5 separate regions of the Homo sapiens genome follow, and regions 1, 3, 4 and 5 are each linked to region 2. The links are contacts of gene promoters, found by promoter capture Hi-C in blood cells and fetal thymus (Javierre and others, 2016). All regions are on one chromosome and are shown on one strand. The core of a region is centred on a gene start or on the middle of the fragment in contact, and the rest is flanking DNA. Distances in the headings are between cores, read along the strand shown.

What was found. Contacts are between HindIII fragments. The CHiCAGO score rates a contact against its expected background, and 5 or more counts as called.
Region 1: a contact is called between a fragment that was not itself captured here and the fragment with the promoter of ATR in region 2, in 7 of 17 cell types (naive CD4 T cells, endothelial precursors, total CD8 T cells and 4 more). The highest score is 6.8, in naive CD4 T cells.
Region 3: a contact is called between a fragment that was not itself captured here and the fragment with the promoter of ATR in region 2, in 1 of 17 cell types (M2 macrophages). The highest score is 6.1, in M2 macrophages.
Region 4: a fragment that was not itself captured here is called in contact with the fragment with the promoter of ATR in region 2 in 2 of 17 cell types (naive CD8 T cells and erythroblasts); the score reaches 6.1 in naive CD8 T cells.
Region 5: the fragment with the promoter of PCOLCE2 here is called in contact with the fragment with the promoter of ATR in region 2 in 1 of 17 cell types (M2 macrophages); the score reaches 5.3 in M2 macrophages.

Annotation. Positions count from the first base shown.
Region 1 is chr3:142,980,321-142,983,020 of GRCh38, reverse strand. The region is part of intron 2 of PAQR9-AS1 (PAQR9 antisense RNA 1); the gene reads right to left. Among named protein-coding and RNA genes, the nearest start is that of PAQR9-AS1, 18 kb to the right of the region's middle. The HindIII fragment of the contact is 4,375 bases long and covers 1-2,700 here.
Region 2 is chr3:142,577,433-142,580,132 of GRCh38, reverse strand. It overlaps ATR (ATR checkpoint kinase), which reads left to right and starts at 1,400. Exons shown (of 47, transcript NM_001184.4): 1 at 1,400-1,487. The coding sequence starts at 1,429. RefSeq lists enhancers at 1,050-1,149, 1,450-1,609. The HindIII fragment of the contact is 1,226 bases long and covers 1,143-2,368 here.
Region 3 is chr3:142,850,085-142,852,784 of GRCh38, reverse strand. The region is part of intron 2 of PCOLCE2 (procollagen C-endopeptidase enhancer 2); the gene reads left to right. Among named protein-coding and RNA genes, the nearest start is that of PCOLCE2, 38 kb to the left of the region's middle. The HindIII fragment of the contact is 1,309 bases long and covers 715-2,023 here.
Region 4 is chr3:143,028,627-143,031,326 of GRCh38, reverse strand. It overlaps U2SURP (U2 snRNP associated SURP domain containing), which reads right to left. Exons shown (of 28, transcript NM_001080415.2): 16 at 2,681-2,700. Among named protein-coding and RNA genes, the nearest start is that of U2SURP, 28 kb to the right of the region's middle. The HindIII fragment of the contact is 547 bases long and covers 1,084-1,630 here.
Region 5 is chr3:142,887,833-142,890,532 of GRCh38, reverse strand. PCOLCE2 (procollagen C-endopeptidase enhancer 2) reads left to right here and starts at 1,450. Exons shown (of 9, transcript NM_013363.4): 1 at 1,450-1,719. The coding sequence starts at 1,637. LOC124909443 (a long non-coding RNA gene) reads right to left here and starts at 2,269. Exons shown (of 2, transcript XR_007096122.1): 1 at 2,074-2,269; 2 at 1-942. RefSeq lists a silencer at 1,458-1,507. The HindIII fragment of the contact is 10,419 bases long and covers 1-2,700 here.

The DNA.
Region 1 (2,700 bases), core at 129-2,628, 400 kb before region 2:
AAAATGAAGAGAGCAAAGGAAGCAGCTGGTGGAAAGGCTCTCAGGTGGAACAGAGCTGAGAGAGAGAAGCGTGAGGGAGCCTTTGTGGCTGGAGCCAGAGAGTAGTGATGGGGAGGTCAGAGTCTTCAGGGCAGATGTGGGGGCAGGGGTTGGAATAGGGCATGGAGGCCATGGTAAGGTTTTGCAGTTTATTCTAAGGTCAAAATTATCTGATTTACATTTTAGAAGACCACTGGCTGCTGCACGGAAGATGGTTTAAAGTGAAGGGGCGAAGGCAGGAGACCAGGCAATCTGAGAACAGGCATCAGCGGCCTGGCTGAGGTGAAATGAATAAATCCTTAGCAGGTTGCACCAAATGGGAAGTAAATGTAACAGGAAGTGTCCTGCTCCCAACAGAGACCACTGAGAGGAGTCTGCAGAGTGCAATGATGGACACAAGAATCAACAAGACAGACACAGCCTCTGCCCTCTTACTCTCTAAGAAGGGATACAGAGATTAAGCAAATAATTGCAGGTATAAACAACAGTCCACCTACAGTGTGACAGGGAAGAGAATAGAGGCTTTGAAGTCAGATTGCTCTGAATTTCTAACTCTGCTCCCCGACTTGCAAGCTGTGTTCCTTTGGTCAGGACAGTCTCTCTCTCTCTCTCTCTCCCTCTCTCTCTCTCTGTGTGTGTGTGTGTGTGTGTCTCCCTCTCTCTTTTTCTCCCTTCCCCCCAACCCAGCCCTCCCTCCTCTCCTCTCCCTCTCATCCGATTTCTTCATCTGTAAGGGTTAGCGAGAGGATTAAATGAGATCATTTTTGAAAAGCACCTAGCACTGGTAAAAAGGAGATAATTATATTGGGTGAATGAATGGAAAAAACCTTCCCCTTTATTTACCGTCTGTCTTCATGTACCCCTGTCGGCCATTCCAGGCAATCATTTTGATTCTAAATTCCTACTACCTCCTCCAACTACAGAATGTGGTTATCAGTGGAGTCAACGGGTTCATTAGCTCTTTGCATGTGGTTTTGCCAGAATCATCAGTTGCCAACTAATGCAAATTAATTGTTTACACTCCTTTGGGTTTATTCTTTTCCCACTGTTATTCTTTTTAAAAATAAAGTTATTTCTTTTCCGTTTTCCCCCCTTTTATTATCAGGAAATTTGAAATAGACTAGGAACAGTAGATGGAAGAATTAATTTATTTGATTAATGGATACCAAATTATTATGGTTAAGTTTTTTGTTTCAGACCACAGCTCCATGGGGACATTAATAAATGTGATTGCTTTTGCTAGAATATTCGTTAATCCTGTGGTTTAGTGTGCTGATAATGGGACATGCTGCTCCACTGACTTTTAATGAGCTTATTCCACTGGCTAGCAGAAAAGCAACAAAAATAATTTTACAAACATATACATGTTTAGAGGACTAAGGGAGTTTTAAAATCTCCTTATGCTCTCAGTATATTCCACCAAGGTGTACGTAAACATAACTTCTTTTTCCTTTTCTCACAGGCTTTTTTCGATAGATCTTTTTTAAATTTAAAATAAAAATCTGAGGAATAGTTGCTATGGACTGAATGATGTCCCCCACAAAATTCCTATGATGAAGCTCTAATCCCCATGTGGCTGTATTTGAAAATAGAGCTTGAGAGGAAGTGATAAAGGTTAAATGAGGTCATATGAGTAGGGCTCTGATGCAGTAGAGCTGGTGCCCTTATAAGATGAGGAAGAGATCCCAGAGCTCCCTCTCTCTGCCATGTGAAAAGGCAGCTGTCTGCAAGCCAGGGAGAGAAGGCTCCTTGGAAACCAACCCTACCAGACCTTGACCTGGGACTTCTGCGCCCTAGAACTGTGAGAAAATAAATACCAGTTGTTTAAGCCACGCAGTCTATGGTACTTTGTTATGGCAGCCCTAGCCGACAAGTCCTAAAACAATATGATTTAGTCTGAGCTATTGGGATATTAAAAGACTTCATCTGGCTTGAATGCCTTAATTAAGATAACTTGTTTTTAGTAGTTATGGGACCCTGCCTTCTTTGTGAGTATATAATTCAAAACTGACAAAGTAGTATGATGACAAAAGACAGAGTGCCTGTTGATTCAGGTTTTATCCACAATTGTAAGTGAAACAATGTCATTTACAAAATCATCAGGGCTTTCCACTGTAGGACAATAGGTTTCCTACATGTCAAATCAAATGTTAACTCTCATGTTTAACTCTGATATCTTCCTCTTCCCTCATACAAATCTACATAAATCAATGCATGCATATGTAGGGCTGTTTTTTTCCCTGTTTCTTATTTAACAACATGAAATTAAAGCCTTCTGGCTCGAGAGAGTGAACCAAACATACACATTTGCCCCCTGCTGTTCCAGACACCATCACTGTGTAGATATTTCTGATATCTTTAAAAGTGGTAGGGGTGGATAAATTTAAAACATCAAAGAGAACAGAAGAGAAAGCAACCAATGGACAGTACATTTCTGGAAGACAGATAAAACAAAGCAGAAAAAGCCAAAGCCCAGGATACACCCAGGAGGAGGATGCAGAGAAGGTTGAAAGAGAACCCTTGCAACAGTGTTTTACAAGGACATCACATCTAAATGGCTTAGCATGGTGTAATTGCTCAATAAATGTTAACTGTTATGTCATTATTCTGGAACTGGTTTTTGTCACTCAAGGTCAACACATATATGCGTAATTTATTCTT
Region 2 (2,700 bases), core at 151-2,650:
TAATATAGTATGTCCGGGTGTGGTGGCTCTCACCTCTAATTCTAGTACTTTGGAAGGCTGAGGTGGGAGGAGCGTGTGAGGCCAAGAGTTTGAGACCAGCCTGGGCAACATAGCAAGACCTTGTCTCTACAAAAAATAATTAGCCAGGCGTGGTGGCATGTCTGTAGTCCCAGCTACTCAGGAGGCTGAGGCAGGAGGATCAATTGAGCCCAGGCTGAGGTGAGAGGATCGCTTGAGCCTGGGAGATTGAGGCTGCAGTGAGCTATGATTGCAACATTCATTGCACTAGAACCTGAACAACAGAGTAAGACAATGTATCTAACAAAAAAAAGAGGGTGAGACAGAATGTGTATATATGTTAGTCTATATGAGGCTCTTTGGTGTTAATTTGGCAAACACCTGAAGGAAAAAGGGCAATGACAGAGTGGTGTTCAAGGCAGAGAGTACAGCAAATGCAAAGTTCTTGAGGCAAGAGCATATTTGGCTGTCATTCCATCACTTTTTTCTTTAAGATACTGTATCGGTTAACTATCCTCATGTACCAAAGAACAAATGTAAACATACTGCATGACTTTGAGTGATTAACTACATAACTTTGACATGTCAACAATCTCTTATGGTGGTCATCTTTCCAATAAATTGAGTTGAGCTAGAAAATGTGTATTGCCAAAATCCATTGATTTACTTTAAAAATTAAATCACAGGTTGCGGATGCCCGTAATGGTGGCATTTCCACACACAGTACTGTTGCTGATTTGATGAGACACAAATATATTCCAACCCCATTTTCAAATATTAAAAGTTGGTAGGGTCCTCAACGAAACCTAACAGTGACTTCAAGTTGAAAAAAAATGCTTAAAAGGAAAAAAACAGGGAGAGCCCACCTTTTGGCCTGTATCTCTCAGAAAGAGGGACAAGAGCGGTGGGAACGTGAGGAACTTTTAAAATGTGAGAGCGTTACTCTGGGGAAACCTGGAGTTTACTCTTGGCCTTTACTCGCTGGACTGTCATAGTTCTCACATTTGTGAAGCGAGTCTGGGCTGGCGGCCCTCAAGCCCTATCCTCCCCCGATGCGGAAGTCTTGCTTCTCTGTGCCTCCCAGGCTTGAGAACAGCAGAGTCTGGCCGCTCAAAACGAAAGCTTCACGAACGTCGCTCGCTCGGTGCTGAGAAAGAAGCCTGACGCGACCCGGGAAACTTGACCGACGCACGCCCGCCCGCTTGCCCCGCCCCCTAACGGCTTCCCGGCTTCCCCCGGGTCCTATGCAGAAAAGACGCTGGGCCTGGCAAGCGGGGCCAGTAGCGGCTTCCGGGAGGAGTTTTGGCCTCCACACGGCTCCGTCGGGCGCCGCGCTCTTCCGGCAGCGGTAGCTTTGGAGACGCCGGGAACCCGCGTTGGCGTGGTTGACTAGTGCCTCGCAGCCTCAGCATGGGGGAACATGGCCTGGAGCTGGCTTCCATGATCCCCGCCCTGCGGGAGCTGGGCAGGTAGGGCTAGGCCCAGCCTGGGTCCTGCATCCTCCTCCGCTGATTCCGGCTTGGGTTTCACGTGCTCTCCCCTCCCCTGCTGCGCTATGGCTGGGATCCCCTAAGCCCCCGCTGCGGCCCTTGTGGAGATGCTCCGTGGCTGATTTGGGCGCTTCTCCCTCAGAGTGCCCGTTGATAGCACATGGGGCAGTCGCCACAAACCTGCGGGAAGCCGGTCCGTGGGGGAGAGAGGCGTCTGCCGGCCCTGGTTTACCACTCACCCCGATCGAGAGTTTGCTTCCTGCAGCTGGAGGAAGAGTCCCTGCTGATCGCTTTCTGGTCACTTTTCTACACTCATTTTCTTCTCGAAAATCTTTTTCCTTAGACGAGGGACTTGACCCATCAGTTTCTGTTCTTTGTGATCACTCGTGGAGGAATTGGTTTTTAGCCTTACATTTTGTCCCCAAACTGCCCTTGAAAGAAAATCACCGCTTCTCATTTTCTGCAAGTGACATCACTTGCTGGAAAAGGCAGTTTTTTTCTTTGAAGTGAAGTCATAGTACATACTGAAGATGTGACCTCCCTCGTATTGATCGTCCAGTTCCCGATCCGTTATTTTAGTCAGAAATTGGAGAGATAGACCCCTGGGTCCACAAAATCTCAGCGTGCACAGAGTGTTGCCAAAATTTGGAGACAATTTAATATTTCATTTGCAAATGCATGTTGTCTGTAAACCTCATGAAAACCAGTATCTTACCACAAGGAGGGAGAGGTGTTGATGGCTCTCACACCTCTTCAATACACAGGCAGGCTTCCCTGAACCAGGCCTAAAGACTCGGTAGAGCTTGTTTTGCTTTGTTTGTTTTAATTCTACACTACTGCGAACAAGAAATAAATAAGCTTGTGCTGCTACCGCAGTTAAATTATCATTTGGAATAACTGCTTCCCAATTTCTTAAACTGTTTGAAAACTTTCCACACAAAGTCAAAGCTGACATTAAGCCAATGGGATAGCTACTTCTCTTTCTTTTTGCAGCGCAGTTGTGTTCATTTCCACTGGTTGGCCATCCAAATAATCTAGTCTCAATATATGAATAAAAGGATAAATGAAGGGACCATTCTTGTCGTAACTGCATCACTATTTTTGAGTGTGTGAATTTTTTCCACTTATCTGTGGCAAGTATACTTTGTGTTTAGTTTATAAAATAACCTCTACCTCTCTAAAAGAAGAGGAA
Region 3 (2,700 bases), core at 120-2,619, 270 kb before region 2:
TTGCATGGTTACATATATATAATATATATTAAAATATATATTATATACACATATACATAAATACTTATGTGTGTATATGTATATACACACATACATAAATATATATAAATACACACACACACACACACACACACACATTTTGATCAGCATGGAAGGAAACCCACTAAATTTGTAACAGTGGTTGCTTCTGAGGAAGGAGGAGGAAATGGGGCCTGGGATGAAGACAAAGGAAATCTCATTTTTATCTGAAATGTTTTATTTACTTCATTAAAGGAGACTTTAAAAATCTATTAACAAAATGTTAACAAAAGTCAATTTCGTGGTTGGTATCCAGGTGTTATATTATTCTGTGTATCTTTCTGTATTTTTTATTTTTTTATTTTTTTTCTATTCTTAACAAAGAAAATTCAAGGATACAGACTAGATTCTCCAAGTGGAAAGGCCATCTTCGGAGAATATGCTCTCTAAAGTCCTTTATAATGACAATCAGGAGCTCTTATCAAAGCTTGCATCAGAGGGCATCAGACAATCTTGATCACTCATATAAAAAATGAAGAACGGATGTTGTGTCATACTGAAAAGGCTCACAGCAGTATGCTTCTCATTTGCAATAGAATTTCTCTCTGGCCTTCAGTGCAAGATGACATTTGTCTCTGGTTATAGGAGACTTACACTGGTACAGATCACCTCTGCATCCTTCTTTCAAAAGAAGCTTTGTCGGGGTTGTTCGGGTCAGCATGTGTTCAAAATTGCAATGATGTAACCCAGTTTCTATTGCTGATCATATTTGTGTCTCATTCTCAAATTTTCATTGCCATGGGAACAGGTACAAAACTTTTGGGAACAAATGATTTATTTTATTGGGAATGAGCATCCAAGTCCTGTAGTTAATTTCAACACCTCTCTACAGGAGAGAGTCAACAGAATTGTCTACGTAGTGTCAGAGAACCAAGAACCTGCCAATGAAACATGATTATACCTCCCTATTCCTCTCCTTGATGAAATAATCTAAAAGCCTCCTGGACAGTCTTCCTCGCTTCTTGCAAATTTTAACTCCTGGTTCACTGTCACTGTCTTCAACACTCTTCCTTGTCCTAATCAACTGTAATTTCAATATCTATATGGGTGATCTTCTCAGGTCTTTAACCTCTTCTCCGCCAAATAACTTATCCTCCATAGTTCCTCAGCCTCCCACTTCCACTGTTATTTTGTCCTTACTCCACCACAGTCTTGGTTGTTACTGTCCTCACCCCACAGCGTCCTGATTTCCATCCTAACCCAGTTTGGATTCCACAGCACATCATCATGGTCACTCCCTTGCCTATGTCTTCAACTCTCTTGTCCTTCTCTCCTGCCATATCCTCCCTTGGCAAACCTCACCACTCTCCCCTACTGCTTATATCCAACTCTCCACCTGCCCTGTACCTTTGCCCACGGAGCTGAATGTGGCTGGGGAAGAAGACCACGAACAAACAAAAACAAATATCGCCACCATGCAGAGAGGTCTTAATTTTAATTCATTTACTTCAAGTGGACCCCAGCAGTCCTGGTACTCCTGCTGCATTTCATTAATCCATTTCCTCACTTTCTCTTCTGTTATCAGATTCCCAGTAGTGCCTCTCTCTTCCACATTTGCTGCTGATGACCTTGTTTTCTATTTTACTAAGAAAAGCAATCCAGAAAAAAAATTCTATATATGCTTTCACCACCTCATTTACTGACCTACCTACATCTGTCTTCCCTTCTGTCATTGGGCAAAACTGTCCCTGCTCCTACTAAGGCCAACTCCACCAGCTGTTCCTTCTGTAGATCAGATCCCCCTTTGCCTGCTCAAGGACATCTGTTAAGCAATCCTCCCTCTCTCTTGCTTCATCAGTTTTGCCCTCTCTACAGAATCCTTCCCATCAGCATGCAAACATGCCTTAGGAAACACCCATTGCAAAAACTCTGCTTAGACCCCATATCCCCTTCCTTACCCCCATATTATTCTGTTCATCTTCACAGCAAAACTCCTTGAAAAGCTTGTTTATATTTATTGTCACCATTTCCTCTCACCCCATTTTCTCATGATCCTTTTATCCAGTTTTCTCCCCATGGTGCCACCAGAACAGCTTTGTCAGCATTACCAGTGACTTCTGGTTGCTAAACTTCTGTGTTGCTAAATCCACTGGTCTTTCTCAGCAGCAGCACTTAACTCAGTTGCCCATTCATTCCTCCTTGACATACTCTCTTCGCCTGGCTTCCAGACGCCACACACTTTGGTTGCCTCCTACTTGTTGACTCAGTCTCTATTGTGGTTTGACCTCTTCACAGACTTGATGACATTGGAGTGTTCCAGGCCTCTATACTTAGACCTCTTCCTTTTTCTATCCACATTCACTCTGGGAGTGACTTCATCAAGTTTCGTAGCTTTGAATTACCCTCTATACATTTATACAAATAGTCACTATTCATGCAGGAAAAAAACAAATTAGTTTGAGATTCTTTTCATGGCTAGGACTTTTTCGGTGATTCATAGAGAGCCTGCTTATATTTAAGATTACAGATGTGGCATCATATTTTGATAACTTTCTGATTATTGTACAAATAGAGGTTGTGTGCAAAACAAAAAACAAAGCAAAAGACAGGAAGTTTTACAACAGACATCTTGGTGATAATGTTTAAAATTTAAATTGTTCTTTCTGTTATTAGCTTCTTAAG
Region 4 (2,700 bases), core at 108-2,607, 450 kb before region 2:
GCATGAGTTGTTGTTTGTTAACATTTTACCCAGAGGAGAATGTCTTGCCAAACTGTAGTCAATCCTCTCAAACCCTGTACTACTTTATCAACTAACTTTATATATATTCTAGATCCTTTCATTTCAACAATGTTCACAGCTTCTTCATCAGAAATACATTCCATCTCAAGAAACCACTTAATTTGCTCATCCCTAAGAAGCAACTCCTCATTTATTAAAGTTTTATCATGAGATCACAGCAATTCAGTCCCATCTTTGAGCTCTACTTCTAATTCTAGTTCCCTTGCTATTTCTACCATATCTGGAGTTACTTCCTCTACTGAAGTCTTAAATCCCTCAAAGTCATCTATGAGGGACTAACTTCTTCCAAGCTCCTGTTAATGTCGATTTTTATAGGCAAAAAAACTGAAACGGATTTTTAAGATTTTTTTAAATTTCTTTTTAATAGAAATGGGGTCTCACTATATTGCTCAGGCTGGTCTTGAACTCTTGGCCTCATGCTATCCTCCTGCCTCGGCCTCCCATAGTGCTGGGATTACAGGTGTGAGCCACCACACCTGGCCCACAAATGTTCTTAATGGCATTTGGAATGATAAATGCTTTCCACAAGGTTTCTGACTTTTTCCCAGACCCACTGGAGGAATCACTATCTATGGCAGCCACAGCCTTATGAAATATATTTCTTAAATAATAAGACTAAAAGGTCAAAATTACTCCTTGATCAATGGGATAGAGAATGGATAATGTGTTAACAGGCATGAAAACAACTTAATCTCTTTGCACATCTCCATCAGAGATCTTCAGTGATCAGGTACATTGTCAATGAGCAGTAATATTTTGAAAAAAATCATTTTATTGAGCAGGTCTCAACAGTGGGCTTAAAATATTCAGTAAACCATGCTGTAAACAGATATGCTGTCATCCAGGCTTTGTTGTTCCATTTATAGAGCACAGGCAGAGTTGATTTAGCATAAATTCTTAATGGTCCTAAAATTTTTGGAATGGTAAATGAGCACTGGCTTCAACTTTAAGTCACCAGCTGCATTAGCCCCTAATAAGAGAGTCAGCCTGTCCTTTGAAGCTTTTAACCCAGGCAGTGACTTCCCCTCTCTAGTTATAAAAGTGCTAAATTACATTTTCTTACAATAAAAGGCTGCTTTGTCTACACTGACAATGTGATTTAGTGTAGCCACCTTCATCAATGACCTCAGATCTTCTGGATAATTTGCTACAGCATCTACATCAGCACTTGCTGCTTCACCTTGAACTTTTATATTATGAAGATGGCTTCTTTCCTTAAACCTCAAAAACCAATCACTGCTAGCTTCAAATTTTTCTTCTGGAGCATCCTCACCTGTTTCCACAGAATTGAAGAGAGTGGGCCTTGCTCAGGATTAGGCTTTGGCATAAGGGAGTGCTATGGCTGGTCTGATCTTCTATCCACACCACCGAAACTTTCTATCAGTAATAAGGCTATTTTGCTTCCTCATCATTCATGTGTTCATTGGAGTGGCACTTTTAATTTCCTTTAAAAACTCTTCCTTTGCATTGATAACTTGGCTCACTGTTTGGTGCAAGAGGCCTAGCTTTCAGCCAACCTCATCTTTTGACATGCCTTCCTAACTAAGCTTAATCATTCTAGCTTTTGATTTAACGTGAGAGAAGTGAGACTCTTCCTTTCACCTGAATACTCAAGAGGCCATTGTGGGATTATTAACTGGCCTAATTTCAATAGTGTTGTGTCTCAGGAAATAGGGAGGCCTAAGGGAAAACAGCTAGTCACTGAACAGTCAGAACACACCTTTTTTGATTAAGTTCATCTTCTTATATGACCATAGTTTGTGGTGCCCCAAAACAATCAAAGATCACTGATCACCATAACAGATACAATAATAATGAAAAAGTTTGAGCTATTGTGAGAATTATGAAAATGTGACAGACATGAAGTAAGCACATGCTGTTCGAAAAATAATGACAACAGATTTGTTTGACTTAGGGTTGCCACAAACCTTCAATTTATAAAACACACTGTATCTGCAGAGCACAGTAAGTCAAAGCGCAATAAAACTAAGTATGTCTGTACTTAATTCTATATTCTAAAAATGCTTTTAGCCAATGTTTTCCCATGAGGTATACAGGATGTCCTCTGAACATTTAATAAGTATGTTTTTGCTTCTTAAACCAGCTAGCTGCACTGTACAATTGTTAAGTGAGACTAATAACAACACATACTTCCATGGTGGCCATCTCACAGCTCACCACACACTGCAAATCAAGTGTGAAAGTTATCATGTAGCGGCTTTGCATAGCCACAATCTGATCCCACTAGCCACACAATAGTTTTTCTTCTTTATGTTGCATTCAGAGAAGCAAGAATTCTAGGGATCCTCCAATAATTTCTGTAAGAATCTGAAGTACTCCAATGCTAAAGAAATAAGTCAATCATGTTTAAGAGATCATCACTAATTTTACCAGGAGAAAACTCAAGGACAACAGGACACACACCTATACTTGTTAGGATGTTTAAAATTATAAAGCACATGATGAAAGATGTTACTATTTTAAACATTCACAAGTGAAAAAAATTTATTTTAGGGTTAACATCTTAATAAGACCATTAATTAAAGCAACCATTACAGTTACTTTTCTGAATATATAATAGAAAGGAAAAATATCTTACTCTTCCTTAAGTGCTCCCTT
Region 5 (2,700 bases), core at 201-2,700, 310 kb before region 2:
GAAAAGTCAGAATATTTCCTGTAGCCAGTTTTACTTACTTCCTTGCCAGGAGTGTTTAGGTTCTTTTTTTTTTTTTTTTCTTTTTTGAGATGGAGTCTCACTCTGTCGCCCGGGGCTGGAGTGCAATGGCGTGATCTCGGCTCACTGCAACCTCCGCCTCCCGGGTTCACGCGATACTTCTGCCTCAGCTTCCCGAGTACCCGGGATTACAGACGCACACCGCAACACCTGGCTAATTTTTTGTATTTTTAGTCGAGGCGGGGTTTCACCATCTTGGCCAGACTGGTTTCGAACTCCTGACCTCGTGATCCGCCCGCCTCGGCCTCCAAAAGTGCTGGGATTACAGGCGTGGGCCATCGCGCCCACCCGTGTTTAGATTCTTAACAGCTCATTATTAGAAATAAAGTCTCGATAAGAACTACTTTAATACTTAATTTTCTTGCTTAGAAAGGTGAAAACAATTTAGAAGGAACAACGTGAGGCATCAAAGTTAAGCTGTATCTCCCATAGCTGGTGATTATTAAAAATCTCTATGAATCTAGTCTGTTCCTGTCATTCTTTTATTAATCCCTGGTTATTGGGAAGCTCTTAACAAAATAAATGTTTAAAATTATATTTCTGTAATTAAGTAAAAGAGAGTATTGATTCCACAAGGCTAGAATTGTTCGTCTAAGAAAAACGAATTCTCCGTAAATTTTAACCCGTTAATACCACAGAAAGATGCTGTTGGAAAGGTCTAAGAACAGAGAGATGCAAGCAGAGAAACACCATTTTCAGAACATGACATGGGATGGTGAGATTTGCTGATTTGGTTCCGTCTTCATTATCTGACATTTAATGACAGTTCACACAGAAATCGCTCGCCTGAAAACCCGTGTTTAAATCCCGGCACAGAGACTGTCTTCCTTGTCATTGTCATACCAGTAAAAAAAAGAAAAGTATCTAGAGAGAGAGAGAGGAGAATAAGCACAGAAGTTAAAATACAATAAAATCCCTTTTCCCTTTCTTTCCTTGGATCTGGGTTTTGAAGGAGACAAAGAAGGACCCCCAGGCTTTCCAGCAGCCAGCAAGCGCTATTACTTTTTATTTAAAAGCAACTGGGAAAAACATTCCCCAAAGCAAAACCAGAAGCCCTCCCTGAGAATCGTCTCTGGGCGTCGGGGCCCGGGCCGCTGGGGTGCCACTCCGCAAGGGGTTCCTCTTCTCCCCGGGGTCCCTGAGGGCTGGACGAGAGAGGACCCGTCGGTCCCGGGGTGCCGGGAGGAGACGTTCGCCCGCCCCACGAGAGGGGGCGGCTCTGGCCTCGGAGCCGCCCCTCCTGCCGCCGGAGAACAAACGGGATATTCAGCAGTGGCCTGTGGCTGCCAGAGCAGCTCCTCAGGGGAAACTAAGCGTCGAGTCAGACGGCACCATAATCGCCTTTAAAAGTGCCTCCGCCCTGCCGGCCGCGTATCCCCCGGCTACCTGGGCCGCCCCGCGGCGGTGCGCGCGTGAGAGGGAGCGCGCGGGCAGCCGAGCGCCGGTGTGAGCCAGCGCTGCTGCCAGTGTGAGCGGCGGTGTGAGCGCGGTGGGTGCGGAGGGGCGTGTGTGCCGGCGCGCGCGCCGTGGGGTGCAAACCCCGAGCGTCTACGCTGCCATGAGGGGCGCGAACGCCTGGGCGCCACTCTGCCTGCTGCTGGCTGCCGCCACCCAGCTCTCGCGGCAGCAGTCCCCAGAGAGGTAACGCGACCCCTGCCCGGGCTCCCTTTCTCTCCTTTCCCTTCCTCCACCCCTGCAGCCTCGCCTGCTGCTTTACTCAACCCGCTTCGGCGCGCCTGGGTGACCCAGCGCTCGACCCTGCGCTCCCGCGCGGTGCAGGCGTCCGCCACCCTCGGGTAGGCTAAGCCCGGGACTTCGGGACCCATCCTTGCTCGCGGGGCTCCCTCCTGGGTCCCCAGCCCGGCCTGCCGGATGGCCCTGCAGCTGGCTTGGCCACCACGTGGCGGGGCTTAATCTGACTTGTGTCTCCCCTCTCCTCGTGTCTATGGGGCCAGAGGGAAGCACTGGGGCCCAAATATGTGGATTTTGGTTTACCGCTGTTTTTTTTCCTTCCCCGAGAGGCTTTGCCCAGAGACGTAAACTAGGGAACAACCCTAGCGGCGCGGCGCCTAGGGAGCCGCTCCGGAAAGTTAACTCTTCGCCAACCTCTGGAAGGCCCCAGGAGCTGGGCTGTGGGACCTGCCCGGTGGCCAACTTTGGCATCACCTCTTCAGCCTCCATCAACATCAGCCTCCCTTTCGATGGGAAGCTCTGCCAATGGCGAGTGATTTTCAGAAAGGGGGAGGAGAACTGGGCATCTCTCCAAATATGGGAACGACAAACTTTTTTTATATTAACCAATTGCTTGCCTGTCTTTCTTTAAAACCATGCTTCTCATTCAGCCTGGCTCTTACCTTCTCTCCCACTCCCCCAGTTAAATTGATGTATTTACCATTTTCCTACAAGACTTTGCCACAATGCCGAGGACTTGATTATACATATATATAATCTTGTGTTATTATGATGGAGACAGATGGCGCTGGACTGAATGCTTTGTCAGGCTATAATTTAAATATTCTAGGAGCTAGCAAATTTTCAGATCCCTTATATGGTGCAAGCATTGATTAATCAACATTAACTTTTATTTATATTAATAGGCTACACCTTTCTGAAGGTAACATC